Regions from separate parts of the Homo sapiens genome. Here region 1 is linked to region 2. Evidence: promoter capture Hi-C in human tissues and cell types (Jung and others, 2019). All regions are on one chromosome and are shown on one strand. Each heading gives the region's core, a stretch centred on a gene start or on the middle of the fragment in contact. The rest is flanking DNA. Distances are from core to core; before and after follow the strand shown. Region 1 overlaps PC (pyruvate carboxylase). Region 2 holds the start of CTSF (cathepsin F).

Evidence for each region. The method cuts DNA at HindIII sites, captures the fragments that hold promoters and counts their contacts. A contact is called where the count stands out against the background at its distance.
Region 1: a contact is called between a fragment that was not itself captured here and the fragment with the promoter of CTSF in region 2, in 1 of the 25 tissues and cell types used here (mesenchymal stem cells).

What each region holds. Positions count from the first base shown.
Region 1 is chr11:66,888,355-66,891,841 of GRCh38, reverse strand. All of the region lies in intron 3 of PC (pyruvate carboxylase), which reads left to right. Among named protein-coding and RNA genes, the nearest start is that of LRFN4, 33 kb to the right of the region's middle. The HindIII fragment of the contact is 4,816 bases long and covers 1-3,487 here.
Region 2 is chr11:66,567,356-66,570,666 of GRCh38, reverse strand. It overlaps CTSF (cathepsin F), which reads left to right and starts at 2,061. Exons shown (of 13, transcript NM_003793.4): 1 at 2,061-2,393; 2 at 2,585-2,683; 3 at 3,005-3,223. The coding sequence starts at 2,181. RefSeq lists silencers at 275-569, 1,943-2,012. The HindIII fragment of the contact is 11,953 bases long and covers 1-3,311 here.

The DNA.
Region 1 (3,487 bases), core at 503-3,002, 320 kb before region 2:
AGGTTGACAGAAATCAAAGTCTAACAATATAACAGTTGGTAAAGATGTGGGGAGATAGACATTCTGTTGTATTTCTAGTGGCTGTGTAAATTATTAGGATAACTACCTTGAGACTTATTTGGCAATATTGATATTAAAAACTTGCCTATTGGCTGGGTGCGGTGGCTCACGCCTGTAATCCCAGCACTTTGGGAGGCTGAGGTGGGTGGATCACCTGAGGTCAGGAGTTCACGACCAGCCTGACCAACGTGGTGAAACCCGTCTCTACTAAAAATACAAAATTAGTCGGGCATGGTGGTGCATTCCTGTAATCCCAGCTACTCGGGAGGCTGAGGCTGGAGAATCGCTCGAACCCGGGAGGCGGAGGTTGTGGTGAGCTGAGATCGCGCCATTGTACTCCAGCCTGGGCAACAAGAGCAAAACTCTGTCTCAAAAAAACAAAACAAAACAAAACAAACAAAAAACAAAAAAACTTGCCTATTAGGTGGGCACAGTGGCTCATGCCTGTAATCCCAGCACTTTGGGAGGCCAAGGTGGGCAGATCACCTGAGGTCAGGAGGTAAAGACCAGCCTGGCCAACATGGTGAAACCCTGTCTCTACTAAAAATACAAAAAAAATTAGTTGGGCATGTTGGCGCACATCTGTAATCCCAGCTACTCAGGAGGCTGAGCCAGGAGAATCACTTGAACCTGGGAGGCGGAAGTTGCAGTGAGCCGAGATCGCGCCACTGCACTCAAGCTTGGGCGACAGAGCGAGACTCTGAAAACAAAAACAAAAACAAAAAAAAACCCCATGCCTATTGTCTGACGCAGCAATTCCAATTCTAGGTATATGTCCTAGAGAAATTTTTGCACATTTTCTATATGGGGTCAAAGTTATTCATTTTTTAACACTTTTAATCGACTACTTTTATATAGACACAAAAATAGAGCAAATAGTATAATGAACTCTATGTACCTGTCGCCCAGCTTCAACAATGATCATTTTGTCAGCCTATACAACACAGTTCTTAATTGCTAAAAATTGGAAACAACCGCGGCGGGGGAGGTGGCTCATGCCTGTAATCCCAGCGCTTTGGGAGGCTGAGGTGGGTGGATCGCCTGAGGTTGGGAGTGGAGTTCGAGATCAGCCTGACCAACATGGAGAAAACCCATCTCTCCTAAAAATACAAAATTAGCCGGGCATGGTGGCACATGCCTGTAGTCCCAGCTACTCGGGAGGCTGAGGCAGGAGAATCGCTTGAACCTGGGAGGCAGAGGTTGCACTGAGCCAAGATCACGCCATTGCACTCCAGCCTGGGTGATAGAGTGAGACTCCATCTCAAAAAAAAAAAAAAAAAGATGAAACTGCCTTATTTATTTATTTATTTTTTGAGATGGAGTCTCGCTCTGTCACTCCAGCCCAGGCAACAAGAGTGAAACTCCATCTCAAAAAAAAAAAAAAAAATGGGAAACAATCTATTTGTCACTGCCTTAGTCTGGGCTGCTATAACACAATACCATAGGTTCATTAAACAGCAGAAATGCATTTCTCACAGTCCTAAAGACCAGAAAGTGCAAGATCAAGTGTCAGCAGATTCAGCGTCTGGTGAGGGCCCACTGCCCGGTTCATAGATCACTGTGTTCTCACGGACAAAGGGGAAACAGAGTTGTCTGATCTCTTCTGTGAGGCTTCTAATCCCATTCAGGAAGGCTCTGCTACCAGCCGCTAATCTTCTCCCCGAGGCCCCACCTTCTGACACTGCCACATTGGTTAGGGTTTCAGCATAGGAATTTGGTGTGGACACAAACATTCAGGCAATAGCAGTCCCTCATTCGGCATGTACAGATTGCGATATGTCTAATAGAACATTGTGCAGTCATTCGTGAAGTAGGTCTACTGTATTAACATGGAGAGATTTCAAATATATATTGGGTAAAACAAGTTAAAATGATTATATCATTTATGAAAAAAATTAGAACATATGGTTATGGGCACACAAATATCCAGGTGAAATCAACAAAGGGGAAGTAGTAACTCTGCATTGTGGGCCCCCTGGGAGAAAAGGAGAAAAGGACCCGGAATGGTATTAGGAAGAATCACAAAGGAACTGCACCTGTTTGCAGAGTGTGGTTTTTTTTCCCTTTTGGTAAGTTTAACTTTTATTTTATCAAAATAATACATGTGAGACTGGGCACATTAGCTCATGCTTGTAATCCTAGCACTTTGGGAGGCCAAGGCAGGCGGATCACTTGAGGTCAGGAGTTGGAGACCAGCCTGGCCAACATAGTGAAACCCCCATCTCTACTAAAAATACAAAAATATTAGCTGGGCGTGGTGGCGGGTGCCTGTAATCCCAGCTACTCGGGAGGCTGAGGTGGGAGAATTGCCTGAACCTGGGAGGCGGAGATTGCAGTGAGCCGAGATCATGCCACTACACTCCAGCCTGGGTGACAGAGTGAGACGCTCTCAAATAATAATAATAATACATGTGGACACTTCTGAAAGTCAGATTGTACCCTGAGGCTCATTTGCCCCCGCCACCCCTGTCCCACTGCCCTCCCCATGAGTGCCTCCCAGAGGCTGCCCTGCAACTCCTGTTCCCCACGGCATTGCTCTGTTTAGTGGTCTCCTTTGATGGAAGATTGAGCTCACTTTTACTGCCCTCCCCATCTCAAACCCTGCCCCACACATGTACCCACTTTCCCTCCCTTCACCCTGCATGGTTATATAGAAACACTTTTAAGTACATTTTCAGAATTTACATTTTTGTTTTGTTTTGTTTTTTGAGATGGAGTCTCACTCTGTCACCCAGGCTGGGGTGCGGTGTCGCGATCTCGGCTCACAGCAACCTCCGCCTCCTGGGTTCAAGCGATTCTCCTGCCTCAGCGTCCTGAGTAGCTGGGATTACAGGCATGCACCACCACGCCCGGCTAATTTTTGTATTTTTAGTAGAGACGGGGTTTCACCATGTTGGTCAGGGTGGTCTCGAACTCCTGACCTTGTGATTTGCCCGCCTGGGCCTCCCAGAGTGCTGGGATTACAGGTGTGAGCCACTGCACCCAGCCAAGATTTTACATTGTTAACATTAAGTTAATATTCACATCTGAAAATACAGAGTGTCTACTATGGTGGCATTAACTTTTCATTTTCCTGGAGTTGATGTTCATCCCCAGACAAGTTGTGCGTTGCCATCTCCTCTTCATTCTTTCGGAGACACCAGGTAATCTGCCTTTTTGTTTGTTTATTTAAGGCCACATCCCCAGGAGCTGCTGTCCAGGTGCCTGGCGGGTCTCCAGGCCTGTGGACAGCGAGCGACCTGGGCCTCCCTCCCCATCGCCGTGGGAGTTCCCTTTGCCTCCTCTGTGCTGGCTGCCCAGGTGCCTGGATCCCTTGTCTTCCTTATTCTTGGTTTATTTAGTCCTTTGTTTTGTTCGTGCCCATCCCTGGGCTTCTTGGGCAGACAGGCTCACAGGTGGCACACCTCCCAAGGCCTGGCGTGTCTCA
Region 2 (3,311 bases), core at 812-3,311:
AACTAGATGATCTTGTAATTCCCAGATGGGTTCTTCCTGCCTACTGCACAAACAAAATCAATTCAGAGACCATAGCATTGCAGAAAAGAACGAGTTTAACTGACACAAGACCTGCCATGCCACACAGGAGACAGGGTTATTACTCAATCAGTCTCACTGAAGGCTTGGAGGTCGGGGTTTTTCAAAGATAGTTTGGTAGGCAGGCGGCTAGGATATGGGTGCTACTGATTGCTTGGGAATGAAATCATAGTAGTGTGGAAAATGGCCCTCCTGCACTGAGTCTGCTTCTGGGTAGGGGTCACAGGACTGGTGGAGTCACACGTCAGTGTGGGGCCATTCCATAGTCACAAATGCAAAAGCCTGGAAGAGATAGCTCAAAAGATCAGTCTTACATTCCATGATAGTGATGTTAATTACAGGAGTAACTGGCAAAGTTGCAAATCTTGTGACTTCCAGAACAATGGCTGGTAATCCTTTAACTATGCCTACATCTTAGTAGAATTCAGGCCCCTCTCATCCTCCTAACTTGGTGGCCTTTCATTAGTTTTACAAGGGTGGTTTAGTTTTCAGGAAGGCGTATTCTAATTTAAAGTATAAGCTAAATTTATCCAAAAGTTACCTTGGCCCATGCCCAGGAATGAGTGAAGACAGCCAGCCTGTGAGGCTAGAAAGCAAGATGCAGTCAGCCATGTCAGATTTCTCTTACTGTCATAATTTTGCAAAGGCAGTTTCAATTTTTTTTTTTTTTTGAGATGGAGTCTCACTGTCTTACCAGGCTGGAGTGCAATGGTGCGCTCTCAGCTCACTGCAACCTCTGACTCCCTGGTTCAAGCGATTCTCCTGCCTCAGCCTCCTGAGTAGCTGGGATTACAGGCACGTGCCACCATGCCCAGCTAATTTTTTTGTATTTTTAGTAGAGACAGGGTTTCACCATGTTGTCCAGGATGGTCTCCATCTCCTGACCTCGTGATCCGCCCACCTTGGCCTCCCAAAGTGCTGGGATTACAGGCGTGAGCCACTGCGCCCGGCCTAAAAATATTTTTAGTAGTGACGGGGTTTCACCTCGTTGGCCAGACTGGTCTCGAACTCCTGAGCTCAGGTGATCTGCCCGCCTCGGCCTCCCAAAGTGCTGGGATTACAGGCGTGAGACACTGCACCCAGCCCATCTGTCGTTCTTCTCTCTAGACTGTGAGCTCCAAGAACGCAGCACTATTCCTGTAATGCATCTGTGCATGCTTTCCCTTGGTAGACCCTGGAACACAGCAGGTGAATGCTTCAAGGGACAGTCTCAACCCTGTGCACCCTGCCTTAGTGGCTACTGAATGCTTGCATGATTGCATTTGAACCTCACAACAGCCTGAGACGCTGCCAGCACTCAAAAAATTACCTGCCATCTCGCTGTTGAGAAGAGGGGCCTGAAAGAGGCGATCAAGCTGCAAACCCAGGCTCAGAAGCCAACTGCCTGGATTTAAGTTTAGCTCAATTCCTTACCAGATATTTGGCAAGCCACTTAATATTTCTCTCTCTCTCTTTTTTGAGACGGAGTTTTGCTCTTGTCGCCTGGGCTGGAGTGCAATGGCACGATCTGAGCTCACTGCAACCTCTGCCTCCTGGGTTCAAGTGATTCTCCTGGCTCAGCCTCCCAAGTAGCTGGGATTACAGGCGCCCACCACCACGCCCAGCTCTTTTTTGTATTTTTAGTAGACACAGGGTTTCACCACGTGTGCCAGACTGGTCTCAAACTCCTGACCTCAGGTGATCCACCCGCTTTGGCCTCCTAAAGTGCTGGGATTACAGGGCTGAGTCACAGAGCCCGGCCACGCCATTTAATCTCTCCAAGCCTCGTTTCCTCCACTGTACGATGGGGATAGCACCTACTTCAGAGATTGCTACGCCGAATAAAAGGAGCTGGCATATCATGCCTAACATATAACAAGCACGTGATAGAGGTCAGTGACTAGCTTTAGCCTCAGGCCAGCAGCCTCCCGCTCTCCCTACCCTGCGCGCCCCACGTGCCTCCTGTAAACAAGAGAACGCGCAGGCGCCGCAAACCAGCGCCCATTGGTCGGCGTGCCGTCGCCCCGCTGGAGGGAGGACTCAGGCCCCGCTGGCCGCGGGCTCGGTACCCGGTGGGTCGGTGGAGCGTCTGTTGGGTCCGGGCCGCCGGCTTCGCCCTCGCCATGGCGCCCTGGCTGCAGCTCCTGTCGCTGCTGGGGCTGCTCCCGGGCGCAGTGGCCGCCCCCGCCCAGCCCCGAGCCGCCAGCTTTCAGGCCTGGGGGCCGCCGTCCCCGGAGCTGCTGGCGCCCACCCGCTTCGCGCTGGAGATGTTCAACCGCGGCCGGGCTGCGGGGACGCGGGCCGTGCTGGGCCTTGTGCGCGGCCGCGTCCGCCGGGTGAGGACGCGCCGGGGGCGGGGGCGCCAGGCCCGGGTCCAAGGGATAGGAGCTTTGACCTAACATTGGGATGGGGCCTGCCCGCTGGACGAACCGATCTCTGGTGATGGGGAATGGGCAGCGCCGCACGGGCGGGGCCTTGGGCGCCGTCAAGGGCCGACTGTGCCCGCCTCACCTACTCCTCTCTCCAGGCGGGTCAGGGGTCGCTGTACTCCCTGGAGGCCACCCTGGAGGAGCCACCCTGCAACGACCCCATGGTGTGCCGGCTCCCCGTGTCCAAGAAAACCCTGGTGAGTGATGAGGCTCTTGGGGTTCCCCGCCCCGAGGCCGAGTAAAGCAGCAGTTGGATGATGACGGGTCAGGTCAAGACGCAGGGATCTGAGGTAGCTGCTGCCCCACCTTGAGCCACTTCCCAGGCCCCGAGGGCTGGAAACCAAGATGCTATGAAGGGGAGGATGCCCCGGTGCAGGCCGTGCCTCACTGTCCACTGTGATGGGGTGATTGCCTTAGGGGTGGCTCTCATCTGAGGAGCCTCCAGCTCCATCTTGGCCAGATCTTGCTCCCCAGATCCAGATCCAGGCCCCCAGAGCAGCTTCTTCCTCTCCCTCCAGCTCTGCAGCTTCCAAGTCCTGGATGAGCTCGGAAGACACGTGCTGCTGCGGAAGGACTGTGGCCCAGTGGACACCAAGGTTCCAGGTGCTGGGGAGCCCAAGTCAGCCTTCACTCAGGGCTCAGCCATGATTTCTTCTCTGTCCCAAAACCATCCAGACAACAGAAACGAGACTTTCAGCTCAGTCATTTCCCTGTTGAATGAGGATCCCCTGTCCCAGGTGAGGAGCCCTCAGCTTGAGGAGCCCTCAGCTTGAGGAGCCAGCCGCTGCCTCATCACCCTTCTCCCTTCCCTCTGGAGTGGGTTTC